Regions from separate parts of the Homo sapiens genome. Here region 2 is linked to region 1. Evidence: promoter capture Hi-C in 16 types of primary human blood cells and fetal thymus (Javierre and others, 2016). All regions are on one chromosome and are shown on one strand. Each heading gives the region's core, a stretch centred on a gene start or on the middle of the fragment in contact. The rest is flanking DNA. Distances are from core to core; before and after follow the strand shown.

Evidence for each region. Contacts are between HindIII fragments. The CHiCAGO score rates a contact against its expected background, and 5 or more counts as called.
Region 2: a fragment that was not itself captured here is called in contact with the fragment with the promoter of MORN3 in region 1 in 1 of 17 cell types (total B cells); the score reaches 5.6 in total B cells.

The regions. Positions count from the first base shown.
Region 1 is chr12:121,665,967-121,672,581 of GRCh38, reverse strand. It overlaps MORN3 (MORN repeat containing 3), which reads left to right and starts at 2,928. Exons shown (of 6, transcript NM_173855.5): 1 at 2,928-3,243. The coding sequence starts at 3,099. All of the region lies in intron 1 of LOC105370034 (a long non-coding RNA gene), which reads right to left. RefSeq lists enhancers at 202-301, 1-791. The HindIII fragment of the contact is 76,456 bases long and covers 1-6,615 here.
Region 2 is chr12:121,555,769-121,562,383 of GRCh38, reverse strand. All of the region lies in intron 4 of KDM2B (lysine demethylase 2B), which reads left to right. Among named protein-coding and RNA genes, the nearest start is that of KDM2B-DT, 21 kb to the left of the region's middle. The HindIII fragment of the contact is 3,944 bases long and covers 1,974-5,917 here.

The sequences.
Region 1 (6,615 bases), core at 1,679-4,178:
CAGGTGAGCGCAGGTGAGCCGGGCGCAGGTGGGGCAGGCCCAGGACTCCTGACTGACCCCAAGCCGTCTGGTTCCCGGCTCCTCCCTCTTCCACTGTGGGTTTTTTGTTTTGTTTTTTTTTCCCTTGAGACAGGGTCTCCCGCCCAGGCTGGAATGCAGTGGCGCCGGATGATAGCTCACTGCAGTCCCGACCTCCTAGGATCAAGGCATCTTCCCACCTCAGCCTCCCGCGCAGCTGGGACTACAGGCCTGCGCCACCATGCCCAGCTAATTTTTTTTTTTTTTGTAGAGATAAGGTCTCACTATGGTTGCCCAGGCTGGTCTCCAACTCTCGGACTCATGTGATCCTCCCGCATCAGCTTCCCAACGTGCTGGGATTGCAGGCGGCAGCCCCCATGCCGCCAGGCCGGTCTTTGTTACTCAGCATCAAAACAACCTGGGCCGACTTTCATTTCCTGTCAACAGCTCAGGTGTTAGGACTACAGCCTCCTCCGGAGTAGAACCTATGTTCCCTAAACTGTGGGATGGAGGGTGATTTTAGGTTACACTGATGAGGTGTGAAGTAACACCCAATGACATCATAAGAAAGTTATTAGAGTCTGGGTTCTCTTGCAATTCTGAGTAAGCCAAGAGGAGTCAGTCTGGTGATTACATGGCATTAACACCTCTTTTAACATTTGCTAATCTTTTTTTTTTTTTTTGAGACGGAGTTTCACTCTTTTTGCCCAGGCTGAGTGCAGTGGCAGATCTCAGCTCTCACTGCAACATCCGCTTTCCGGTTTCAAGCGATTCTCCTGCCTCAGCCTCCCGAGTAGCTGGGATTACAGGCGTCGTCAACCACGCCCGGCTAATTTTTGTAGTTTGAGTAGAGACGCGGTTTCACTATGTTGGCCAGGCTGGTCTCGAACTCCCGACCTCGTGATCTGCCCACCTCGGCCTCCCAAAGTGCTGGGATTACAGGCGTGTGCCACCGCTCCCGGCCTTGCTAATTCCTATTTTTAACAGAGACCTTGGAGCTCAGTCAACTCTAAGCCATAGCATCTAGCTAAGACTTAAATTGGTTCTTTCAGTGTTTTCATTTTTACATTTATTATTGCCTTAGGGTACCTGCTACTGGTTTTCTATTTATAATAATGATACGTAAAGTCTCCATTCTTCTAATTTTTTTTTTTTTTTGAGATGGAGTCTTGCTCTGTTGCCCAGGCTGGAGTGCAGTGGCGCGATCTCGGCTCATTGCAAGCTCCGCCTCCCGGGTCATGCCATTCTCCTGCCTCAGCCTCCCGAGTAGCTGGGACTACAGGCGCCCGCCACCACGCCCGGCTAATCTTTTGTATTTTTAGTAGAGACGGGGTTTCACCATGTTAGTCAGGATGGTCTCAATCTCCTGACCTCGTGATCCACCCGCCTCGGCCTCCCAAAGTGCTGGGATTACAGGCGTGAGCCACCGCGCCCAGTCTTTTTTTTTTTTTGAGACAGAGTCTCACTCTGTCTCGCCCAGGCTGGAGTGCAGTGGTGCAATCTCGGCTCACTGCAGCCTTCTCCTCCCTGGTTCAAGCGATTCTCCTGCCTCAGCCTCCCGAGTAGCTGGGATTACAGGCGCCCGCCACCACACCCAGCTAATTTTTGTATTTTTAGTACAGACAGGGTTTCGCCATGTTGGCCAGGCTGGTGTTGAACTCCTGACCTCGGGTGATCCATCCGCCTCGGCCTCCCAAAGTGCTGGGGATTACAGGCGTGAGCCACTGAGCCCGGCCTATTTTATTATTATTTTTTAAGACTGAGTCTTGCTCTGTCTCCCAACCTGTAGTGCAATGGTGCAATCTCGGCTCACTGCAACCTCCGCCTCCTGGATTCAAGCTGTTCTCATGCCTCAGCCTCCTGAGTAGCTGGGATTACAGGCGCGTACCACCAGGCCTGGCTAATTTTTGTATTTTTAGTAGAGACAAGGGTTCACCATGTTGACTAGGCTGGTCTCGAACTCCTGACCTCAGGTGATCCACCCGCCTCGGCCTCCCAAAGTGCTGGGATTACAGGCATGAGCCACTGCGCCTGGCCCTCCTTTTTTCAATATATGTATTGATTTTTTTAAAGTGAGTTAACTTATTTTTATTTTCTTCTTGAGAAAAGTTCTCACTCTGTCATCCAAGCTGGCGTGCAGCGGCATGATCTCGGCTTACTGCAACCTCTGCCAAGTGAGTTAATTTACATATAAAGATTAATAGTACATGTGATATTTGGAAATGGGAGAAGAAAAAATCCCAACGGCATAGAATTTAGGACCTGAGATTGTTTCCCCACTCCCAGCTTTTGCTCTGCCTATTTTCTTTGCCTGGAATTATTTTTCCCTACTCCTAGGTGTGATTGTCAAAATATGTAACCCATATTTTGGGTTCATATTTTGGATTCATATTTGGCTCAGTGGCTCATGCCTGTAATCCCAGCACTTGGAGAGGCTGAGGTGGATGGATCATTTGAGATCAGGAAATTGAGACCAACCTGCCCAGCATGGTGAAACCCCCGTCTCTACTAAAAATACAAAAATTAGCCAGGCGTGGTGGTGGGCGCCTGTAATACCAGCTACTTAGGAGGCTGAGGCACGAGAATCACTTGAACCCAGGAGGCAGAGGTTGTAGTAAGCCGAGATGGTGCCACTGCACTCCAGCCTGGGCAACAAAGCAAGATTCCATCTCTAAATAAATAAATAAATACATAAATAAATAAAAATATTTAGAAGACATAAAAAAAAAAATATATATATATATATATATGTATATATGACCGCCACCCCCTCCCTGGGGGCAGCTTCTCCCTGATGCCATCACAAACCCTCCTGCTCTACTGGTTTCCCTAGATTCCCAAGTAATTGTGCCATCAGACCCCCTGGGAGGGGGCCCCAGGAGAGGCAAGGGAGGGGCCAACCAAAGGTCAGTCCAGCACTAAAGGATCCCCACTAAGGGCTGTTCACCTGCCCCAGGGACTCAGAACACACATGACTCTCCCCACTTGAGCTCAGGATCCCGGCATTACACGGGGCGCGCTGAGCCCCAGATGTCCCTAACCCCTTTCCAGCACCCTCCAGCCTTGCAGAAGCAGCCACCATGCCAGTCTCTAAGTGCCCAAAAAAGTCGGAGTCCCTGTGGAAGGGGTGGGACCGGAAGGCCCAGAGGAACGGCCTGCGGAGCCAGGTATACGCTGTGAATGGCGACTACTATGTGGGCGAGTGGAAGGACAACGTGAAACACGGTGAGTGGGACTCCGGGACGGGCGGCCGGAGTGGGGTCAGAGCCACAGTGGGCAACAGGGCCAGGAAGGCAGAGTGCAGAGCTCACTGGGGACATGAGATGTGTCCCCAAGGCTCCCCCAGGGTGAGCGCTGGCCCAGGCCAGCTGGGGGCCTTCACATGCTGGGGCTTCTGAACAAACTCAGCCCTGACTTCAACTGAGTGAGGGTCTCAGGACCAGCAGTGGACAGAGGGTCTTGAGAAACTGGCCTGCCCCCGGGGCTCTGGGACCTAGGGGGCTCAGTTCCTGCCTTCTGAGACCTGGGTTAAGCACTGGGCTGGCTGGCAACAAGAAAAGCCACGCCCCTGAAGCCAGCTTGCAGTGGGGTTCTGGGCTTCGCATTCAGCTGTGATGCTCTGCAGAGGGCTGAGCGCCAGGCACAAGGGAGGACCCCCTACTCCATCCCACAAGGAGGAGCTGGGGCTCCAAGTCTGACCAGCAGGGGGCAAAGGGGTCCTGTTGATACAAACTAAATCCTGACTGGGGAAAAAAATAAAGAAAAAAGAGCTTTTATTTTAAAATGTGGCACTGCTGCTCACTCCAGTCTTGCAATTCCAGACTCTGTACTCTTTTTTTTTGAGGGGACAAGGTCTTGCTCTGTCTCAAAAAAACAGGCTGGAGTGCAGTGGTGCCTTCATAGCTCACTGCAGCCTCGAGATCCTGGGCTCAAGCAATCCTCCTGTCCAAGCCTCCTGAATTGCTGGGATTACAAGTGGGAGTCACTGTGCCTGGCTAGATTCTGTGCTCTTTTTATTTTTTTAGACGGAGTTTCACTCTTGTTGCCCACGCTGGAGTGCAATGGCACGATCTTGGCTCACCGCAACCTCTACCTCCCGAGTTCAGGCGATTCTCCTGCCTCAGCCTCCAGAGTAGCTGGGATTACAGGCATGTGCCACCACGCCTGGCTACTTTTGTATTTTTAGTAAGACGGGGTTTCTCCGTGTTGGTCAGGCTGGTCTTGAACTCCCGACCTCGAGTGATCCGCCCGCCTCGGCCTCCCAAAGTGCTGGGATTACAGGCGTTTAGCCACTGCGCCCAGCCCAATTCTGTGCTCTTAACCATCCTGCTCTCCTGCCTTGCTGGGTTAAGTGCTTTGCAGTCAAATAAACCTGGGTTAGGATCCCAGTTCCAGGCTGGGTGTGGTGGCTCACATCTGTAATCCCAGCACTTTGGGAGGCCGAGGCAGGCAGATCACCTGAGGTCAGGAGTTCAAGACCACCTTGGCCAATATGGTGAAATCCCATCTCTACTAAAAAAATACAAAAATGGGCCAGGTGGGGCTGGGCGTGGTGGATCACGCCTGTAATCCCAGCACTTTGGGAAGCCGAGGCGGGCGGATCATGAGGTCAGGAGATTGAGACCATCCTGGCTAACACAGTGAAACCCTGTCTCTACTAAAAATACAAAAAATTAGCTGGCTGTGGTAGTGGGCGCCTGTAGTCCCAGCTACTCGGGAGGCTGAGGCAGGAGAATGGCGTGAACCCAGGAGGCGGAGCTTGCAGTGAACCGAGATCTCGCCACTGCACTCCAGCCTGGGCGACAGAGCAAGACTCCGTCTCCAAAAAAAAAAGAAAAAAAAAAAGACTTGGAGGAGAGGGAGTAACTGAGTGGATGTTTGCAGGAACTAGCATAGAAGGTGGCAGGACCAGCTGGAGCAGAGAATATACCTGGGGTGTTCAAGGAACAGCCAGGAGGACGGTGTGGGTGAAACAGAGTGAGGAAGAGGAGGAGGTCAGAGAGGTTGCAGGCCGGGGACAGTGGCTCACACCTGTAATCCCAGCACTTTGAGAGGCCGAGGCAGGCAGATCACTTGAGGTCAGGAGTTCAACACCAGGCTGGCCAACATGGCAAAACCCCATCTCTACTAAAAATACAAAAAATTAGCTGGATCGAGTGGTGAACGCCTGTAATCCCAGCCACTAGGGAGGCTGAGGCAGGAGAATTGCTTGAACCCAGGAGGTGGAGGTTACAGTGAGCCAATATCATGCCACTGCACTCCAGCCTGGGTGCCAGAGCAAGACTCTGCCTCAAGATAAACAGTCCTGGCGCGGTCGCTTATGCCTGAAATCCCAGCACTTTGGGAGGCCGAGACAGGCATATCGCCTGAGGTCAGGAGTTCGAGACCAGCCTAGCCAACATGGTGAAACTCCGTCTCTACTAAAAATACAAAAATTAGACCAGACATGATGGCAGGCACCTGTAATCCCAGCTACTTGGGAGGCTGAGATAAGAGAATTGCTTGAACCTGGGAGGAGGAGGTTACAGTGAGCTGAGATTGCGCCATTGCACTCCAGCCAGGGAGTTTCCAAGAACGAATCTCCATCTCAAAAAAAAAAAAAAAAAAAAAAGAGGTTGTGGGTTAAAGAAGAAGGGTAGTCAGATCATATAGGACCCTGTCAGCCATGGTAAGAACTTTGGATTTGACTCTGTGACACAGGGAGGGTTTAGAGCATAGGAATGACATGATCTGATTCATGTCCCATAACACCCATGCTGGCTATTTAGTTGTGAATGAGGTGGGGGCAGGAAGACCCCTCAGAGGCCCTTGCAGACATCCAGGTGAGAGACATCCAGCAGGAGAACGAAGCACCCCATAAAAGCAAATTATTAGAAAGGCAGGAATGGAGCCATCCTCAGGGAAGGCTTAGGACAACTTCTCCATCTATCTGCTTCTCCCTGGCTGGCCTTTTTTCTCTCCTCCTGCAAGTATACCTCTGCATGATACACATGGCTGCCAGCATCTTAGTGACAGGATGGAGGAATCCTCTTCACTTCCTGATATAGTTTTGTCTTGTTTGAGACAGAGTTGTGCTCTGTCGCCCAGGATGGAGTGCAGTGCTGCGATCTCGGCTCACTGAAACCTCCACTTCCCAGGTTCAAGTGATTCTTGTACCTCAGCCTCCCAAGTAGCTGGGACTAAAGGCACACACCACCACGCCCAGCCAATTTTTGTATTTTCTGGTAGAGATGGGGATTCACTTGCCAGGTGCGGTAGCTCACGCCTGTAATCCCAGCTCTCAGGGAGGCAGAGGTGGGAGATAGCTTGAGCCCAGGAGTTCAAGGCCTGCTTGGGCAATATAGCGAGACCCCGTTCTCCACAAAAAGGAAGAAAAAAAAAGACAAATAAATAAATAAGTGAGACACGGATTCACCATGTTGGCCAGGCTGGTTTCGAATTCCTGACCTCAAGTGATCTGCCCACCTTGGCCTCCCAAAGTTCTGGGATTACAAGTGTGAGCCATCATGCCCAGCCTTTTCCCCTTATTTTCCTACTTGATAAGTTTTGGTTTGCCTCACTGTGTCCTGTGCAGACTCTCAGCTCTTCCATCCCCTG
Region 2 (6,615 bases), core at 2,696-5,195, 110 kb after region 1:
GCCTCCTGAGTAGCTGGGATTACAGGCTCATACCACCACGCCCGGCTAATTTTTTGTATTTTTAGTAGAGATGGGGTTTTGCCACGTTGGCCAGGCTGGTCTCAAACTCCTGGCCTCAGGTGATCTGTTCGCCTTGGCCTCCCAAAGAGCTGGGATTACAGGCGTGAACTACTGTGCTGGCCAGGCCTTTTTAAAGTTTTTTTTTTCCCCAAGACAGAGTCATGGAAAAAAAGTCACCCATGTTGGAGTGCAGTGGCTTGATCTCGGCTCGCTGCAACCTCTGCCGCCCAGGTTCAAGCTTCTCCTGCCTCAGCCTCCTGAGTAGCTGGGATTATAGGCTCGCACCACCACGCCCGGCTAATTTTTGTATTTTTAGTAGAGACAGGGTTTCGCCATGTTGGCCAGGCTGGTCTCGAACTCCTGACCTCAGGTGATCCGCCTACCTCAGCCTCCCAAAGTGTTGGGATTACAGGCATGAGCCACCGCTCCCGGCCTAAAGTTGGTTTAAAATCATAGACTTTTTCCATTTTAAGCTCGGGAAGGAGTCTTAGAGTTCTTCCAGTCCTGCTTCCCCATTTCACAAATGGGAAAAACTGAGGCCTGTAGACAAATTATTTTTGAGTTGCTCAGATAGTGCTTGGCACATCAGAGTCACATGTAGGTTTGACTTTCAGTGATTGGGAGAACACAATGCTTCCAATAGACCCCCAGAAGAAAAGCAACTTGGGGCTGGACATAGATGGGTGTGGTTCCGGGCACATTGAGTTGGATCTCATGAGAGAGGTCAAGGCCAGAGCGGCAGGTAGGGGAGGCATCCAATTGCCAGGACAGATAGAAATGCAGGGAGAGGGGCCAGGCGCCATGGTGCACCCCTGTAACCCCAGCACTTTGGGAGGCTGAGGCGGGCGTATCACTCGAACTCAGGCCTCACTGCTATTTCAAAACAGTAGAGCAGAGTCGGATTTGAACCTGTGACCAGTGCTCTTGCTAATCAGTGCTACCTGTGTGACACGGATGAGGAACAAAATACAAAACCAGTCCAGAAATGTGAGGATGCTGGAGAAGGTTCCAGAACTGTGATGTGGAAGAGTTCTGTGAGCTCTCGGAAGAGCCGGGCTCTGGGGAGTTTGGGGTCGCGCCCGTGTATGTTTCACATTAGCCTTCAAGATGACTTTCAGCAGCCTCGTCCTGGCCCCGAGCCCGAGGCTTTCGGAGCTGACGGATGGAACCTTCAAAGCAGGGGCCACAGGGCCATGGACTAATTTCCGCAGCTGGAACCTGTTGGATGTGTGTGCAGCCCGGGAGCCAGAACACCGATGATCCTGGGGTGGGTGGGCGGCGGAGGGAGGGAGGCTGCTGGCCTGCCTAGGAACTCCAGGCACTGCCCCATGTGGAAAATTTCTCCTGTAACCCACTGACTTCAGGAACCCGAGAGCCCCAGCAGTGTGGATCCCTTGCAGGTCTGAAGGGACGCTTGTCCCTGTCAGCTGCTCTAGGGATGGCTGCTCCTAAAGGCTGGGAGGGCTGCATTCCATTCTTGGCACTGATCTGTCCCCTCCATCCCTTTAGGCTACCTGCCTCCTCCCCGGTGCCAAACCTCTTGCTTAGAGACTCAGCCTGTGTGCCTGGTTCCCTTTGCTCCTGTGGCAGATCAGACCGGGAGGCTGGAGGGCTCATTCTTCATCTCTCAGCTCAGGCCAAAAGGGACTGGCGGCCCCCGTCTCTTCCTCTGCCCCCACTGCCCCTGCCCCTGCCCACTTTATACATTTAAGGGAAGTGATCCGAGTATTCAGGAACTGAAACTCAGTGCCTCGCCCCTGGGAAAGGACCCAAAAATGCCCCAACCCAGTGAATTTCAAAGGGAAACCCCAGGGATCTAGGTCTGAATTCTGAGCACCCCCCACCCACCTCCTGCATCAGCCTGAGCTGCTTGTTTTGTTTTTATTTATGTGTATTTGGCTGTCATCAAAGCTTCTGTTTGAAGAAGGGGTTCTGTGGTGAAGGAAAGAAAAAGTATAAAGTCAGTTTCTTCCTGCCTTTACACACAAGGCAACTGAGTTCTGGAAATGGGTCAGTCCAGGCTGGGTGAGGTGGCTCATGCCTGTCATCCCAGTGCTTTGGGAGGCTGAGGCAGTAGGATCACTTGAGGCCAGGAGTTTGAGACCAGCCTGGTCTCAAACAGAGTGAAACCCTGTCTCTACAAAAGAAAATAAAGCCAGGCATGGTGACTCATGCCCATAGTCCCAACCTCCTTGGGAGGCTGAGGTCGGAGGATCGCTTGAGCCCAACAGGTCGAGGCTGCAGGGAACCATGATGGCACCATTGCACTCCAGCCTGGGTGATAGAGCGAGACGTCTCCTAAATAAAAACATATAAAAACACAGTGACTCCTTAAAATTATTAAATACCCATTTTCAATGATCAAATTTCTACTTGTTTCATATATATATCATAGATGTTACTCCTTTTTTTTTTTTTTTGAGATGGAGTTTTGCTCTTGTTGCTCAGGCTAGAGTGCAGTGGCACAATCTCAGCTCATCTCAACCTCTGCCTCCCGGGTTTAAGCAGTTCTCCTGCCTCAGCCTTCCGAGTAGCTGGGATTACAGGCATGCGCCACCATGCCTGACTAATTTTGTGTTTTTTTTAGTAGAGACGGAGTTTCTCCATGTTGGTCAGGCTGGTCTCGAACTCCCGACCTCAGGTGATCCTCCTGCCTCGGCCTCCCAAAGTGCTGGGATTACAGGCATGAGCCACTGCACCTGGCCTGGTTGAGCTGCATTTTAAGTCTCTTTCACTCTCTGGATTCTCCCTACATCTCCTGCCTCCCTGGTCCCCTCTGTTGCTATCACCGTGCCACTCTGGGTAGTGTTCTGTCACGTCTGTGTTTCCTGCTGCCCCGTGGGGGCTGGACCCCAGCTGTGTGGCATGAACAGGTGACCTGTCCATTTCTGTTTCCCTGGGGGAGGGGAGGTCCGTGAAGCCCAGGTGCCCAACAGAACTGACTTTCCTTCCTCCTCCCACCACTTCCCCTCCCACCCCTCCCATAGACCTGGAAGTCCAGCTTCCAGGACACCTGGGGAGCTGCTCAGAGCTCCCGGCACACTAAGGAAACTCTTCTTAGAACCAAGCCTCCCGACCTTCTGCTCCTAAGACGGTCACTTGGCCTGCCCAGGCCTCTTGCCTATACGCTTCCCCCTATGACTTCAGCCCCAGCTGCTCCCCACAGCCCTTCCCTGGTCTGAGGCAGGCATACAGCTGAGTTAAGCCAGTCCCTTAAGTCCTGACTCCCTTGCATCAGAGGGCGGAGCAGGCTGAGGTGTAGTCAGCGGGGACCCTGGCTTGGCCCTGGCCTGACTGGGAGTCTTGAACACTGGTCCCAAGTGGCATCTGTGATGTGAAAAGCTGCAAAGTAGCGGAGGCCAAGAGGGTGCCTAGGAGGTGCTGGGGAGGGCGGCGATGGCAGTGGGAGGCATGGTTATTCCTCAGAAAAGGAGGCTGGGTGCCATGGTTCATGCCTGTAATCCCAGCACTTTCAGAGGCTGAGGTGGGCAAATCACTTGAGGTCAGGAATTCGAGACCATCCTGGCCAACATGGCTAAACCCCATCTCTACTAAAAATACAAAAATTAGGCTGGGCGCAGTGTCTCACGCCTGTAATCCCAGCACTTTGGGAGGCCGAGGCGGGCAAATCACTTGACGTCAGGAGTTTGAGACCATCTTGGCCAACATGAGGAAACCCCGTCTCTACAAAAAATACAAAAATTAGCTGGGGCATGGTGGCATGCGCCTGTAGTCCCAGCTACTTGGGAGGCTGAGGCAGGAAAATCGCTTGAACCCAAGAGGCGGAGGCTGCAGTGAGCCGAGATCGCACCACTGTACTCTAGCCTGGGCAACAGAGTGAGACTCCGTCTCAAAAAAAAAAAAAAAAGAAAAAGAAAAGGAAACACAGGCCTTCTCCACACATGTCTGTCCTTCTGTGTTGAGCCGTGCTGTCCCAGGGCTGCTCAGGACCTACCAGGTGATTCCAGGTGGGGCTTCATGGCTTCATCTTTTTTGTTACACGTGCCCACCCAGAACCACCCCCAGGTCAGGTCTTTAGTTCACCTGCCATTTGTCTGTGAAGTCGTGTGTCAGATGCCACACAGAACATAAAAGTAAATAACAGCACTCATTCCTCATGCGACAAAGAGTGAGCTCCTAGCCTGCACCAGTCTCTGTTCTAGAAATCTGGACTAGAGTAGCGATCAAGACAGGCAAGCCTCCTGCCCTCACGGCACTCACAGAGCAGCAGGGTGGAAAGACAAGAAACAAGTAACCAAGAAATACGGTATTTAGGATGAAGTGGTATGAGGTCATCAGTGGGTGACACCTTTCTGTTTGTGAAGCTACTAGGTAAACTGCGATTTCGTTATAGAAGGTGTTGGCCCCGTGATCCGCTTATACCAGGCTCTGGGAGGGAGGCAAGGGGAGGGACCAGCCCTCCCCTGTGTAAATATGTCACATTTATGGAGCCATGTAGGTATACCCAGTCATTCTCTCACTAACCCTTCGATTAGTTTCCTAGGCTGTCATAACAAAGTACCACAAAGTGAGTGGCTTAAAACCACAGAAGTTTATTCTCTCACACTTCTGCAGGCTAGAAGTCCAAAATTAAGGGTGTCTGTAGGGCTACATTTCCCCCTGAAGTCTCTAGGGGCAGGTCCTTCCTTGCCTTCTCTGGCTTCTGGTGGTGGCTGGCAGTGCTTAGTGCGCCTTGGCTTGTAGCTGCGTCACTCTGATCTCTGCCTCCGTCTTCACGTGGCTGTCTTCCTTCTGTGTGTCTGTGTCCACATTTCCTTTGTCATGGCTGGGCACGGTGGCTCACGCCTGTAATCCCAGCACTTTGGGAGGCTGAGGTGGGTGGATCACCTGAGGTCAGGAGTTCAAGACCAGCCTGGGCAAAATGGTGAAACCCCGTCTCTACTAAAAATACAAAAAAATTAGCCGGAAGTGGTGGTAGGCGCCTGTAATCCCAGCTAATCGGGAGGTTGAGGCAGGAGAATCGCTTGAACCCAGGAGGCAGAGGTTGCAATGAGCTGAGATTGTACCACTGAACTCCATCCTGGGGAACAGAGTGAGACTCTGTCTCAAAAAAAAAAAAAAAAAAAAAAAATTCTCTTGTCTTATTAGGCCTACCCTAATCCCATATGATCTCATTCTAGCTTGATCACGTCAGCAAAGACCCTGTATCACAGATATTAGGGACTGAACATATATTTTGGGGGAGTGCAGTTCAACTCACAGTACCCCTTGAGGTACGTGGGTAGCCAAAACCGTTAGCAAATTACAGGGAACTGGGTAGGCTGAGGAGGGGAGGGTGCTGATTTCTGGTTAGTGCCTTCCCTGCGTCTACTGTTCGATCTGGGTCATAATCTTAGCTAATCCTACAACCTTTTTTTCTTTTTAAAATTACATTTTTATTGATTTACTGGCTTAGTTCACTTTGTGTTGCTATAAAGGAATGCCTGAGGTTGGATTTTTTTTTTTTTTTTAAGGACAGAGTCTCACTCTGTCGCCCAGGTTGGAGTGCAGTGGCACCATCTCAGCTCACTGCAACCTCCGCTTCCTGGATTCAAGTGATTCTCCTGCCTCAGCCTCCTGAGTAGCTGGGGTTACAGGTGCGCATAACCAGGCCTGGCTCAATTTTTGTATTTTTAGTAGAGACAGGGTTTCACCATGTTGTCCAGGTTAGTCTCAAACTCTTGACCTCAAGTGATCCACTTGCCTCGGCCTCCCAAAGTGCTGGGATTACAGGCTTGAGCCATGGTGCCCAGCTGGGTTGGATTATTTATAAAGAAAGGTTTATTTGATTCAGCTCTGCAGGCTGTACAGGAAGCATGGAGCCAGCATCTGCTTCTGGTGAGGACTTCAGGAAGCTTCCAGTCATGATGGAAGGGGAGGGTGAGCTGGTGTGTCACATAGCCACAGAGGGAGCAAGAGAGAGAGGAGGGAGGTGCCAAATGCTTCTAAATAATCCAGCCTGTAGCCCCAGCTATTTGGGAGGCTGAGGTAGGAGGATCGCTTGAGCCCAGGAGTTTGAGGCTACAGTGAGCCATGTTCAAGCCACTGCACTCCAGCCTAATGAGCAGAGTGAGGCTTTGTCTCAAAAAACAAAAAACAGGCCGAGTGCAGTGGCTCACCCCTGTAATCCCAGCATTTTGGGAGGCTGAGGAGGGCAGATCACAATGTCAGGAGTTCAAGACCAGCCTGGCCAACATGGTGAAACCCCATCTCTACTAAAATACAAAAAATTAGCCAGGCGTGGTGGTGCGTTCTTGTAGTCCCAGCTACTCGGGAGGCTGAGGCAGGAGGATCTCTTGAACTTGGGAGGCAGAGGTTGCAGTGAGCCGAGATCGTGCCACTGTACTCCAGTGTAGGTGAGAGAGTGAGACTCCGTCTCAAAAAAAAAACAAAAAACAAAAAAAACAAAACAAAAACCCAATTCAGTCTCATGGGAACTAATAGAGTGGGAATTCACTCTTTATGCAAGGAGGGTACCAAGGCATTCGTGAAGGATCCACCCTCACGTCCCAAACACCACACACCAATTCCTACCTCTAACATTGGAGATATTTG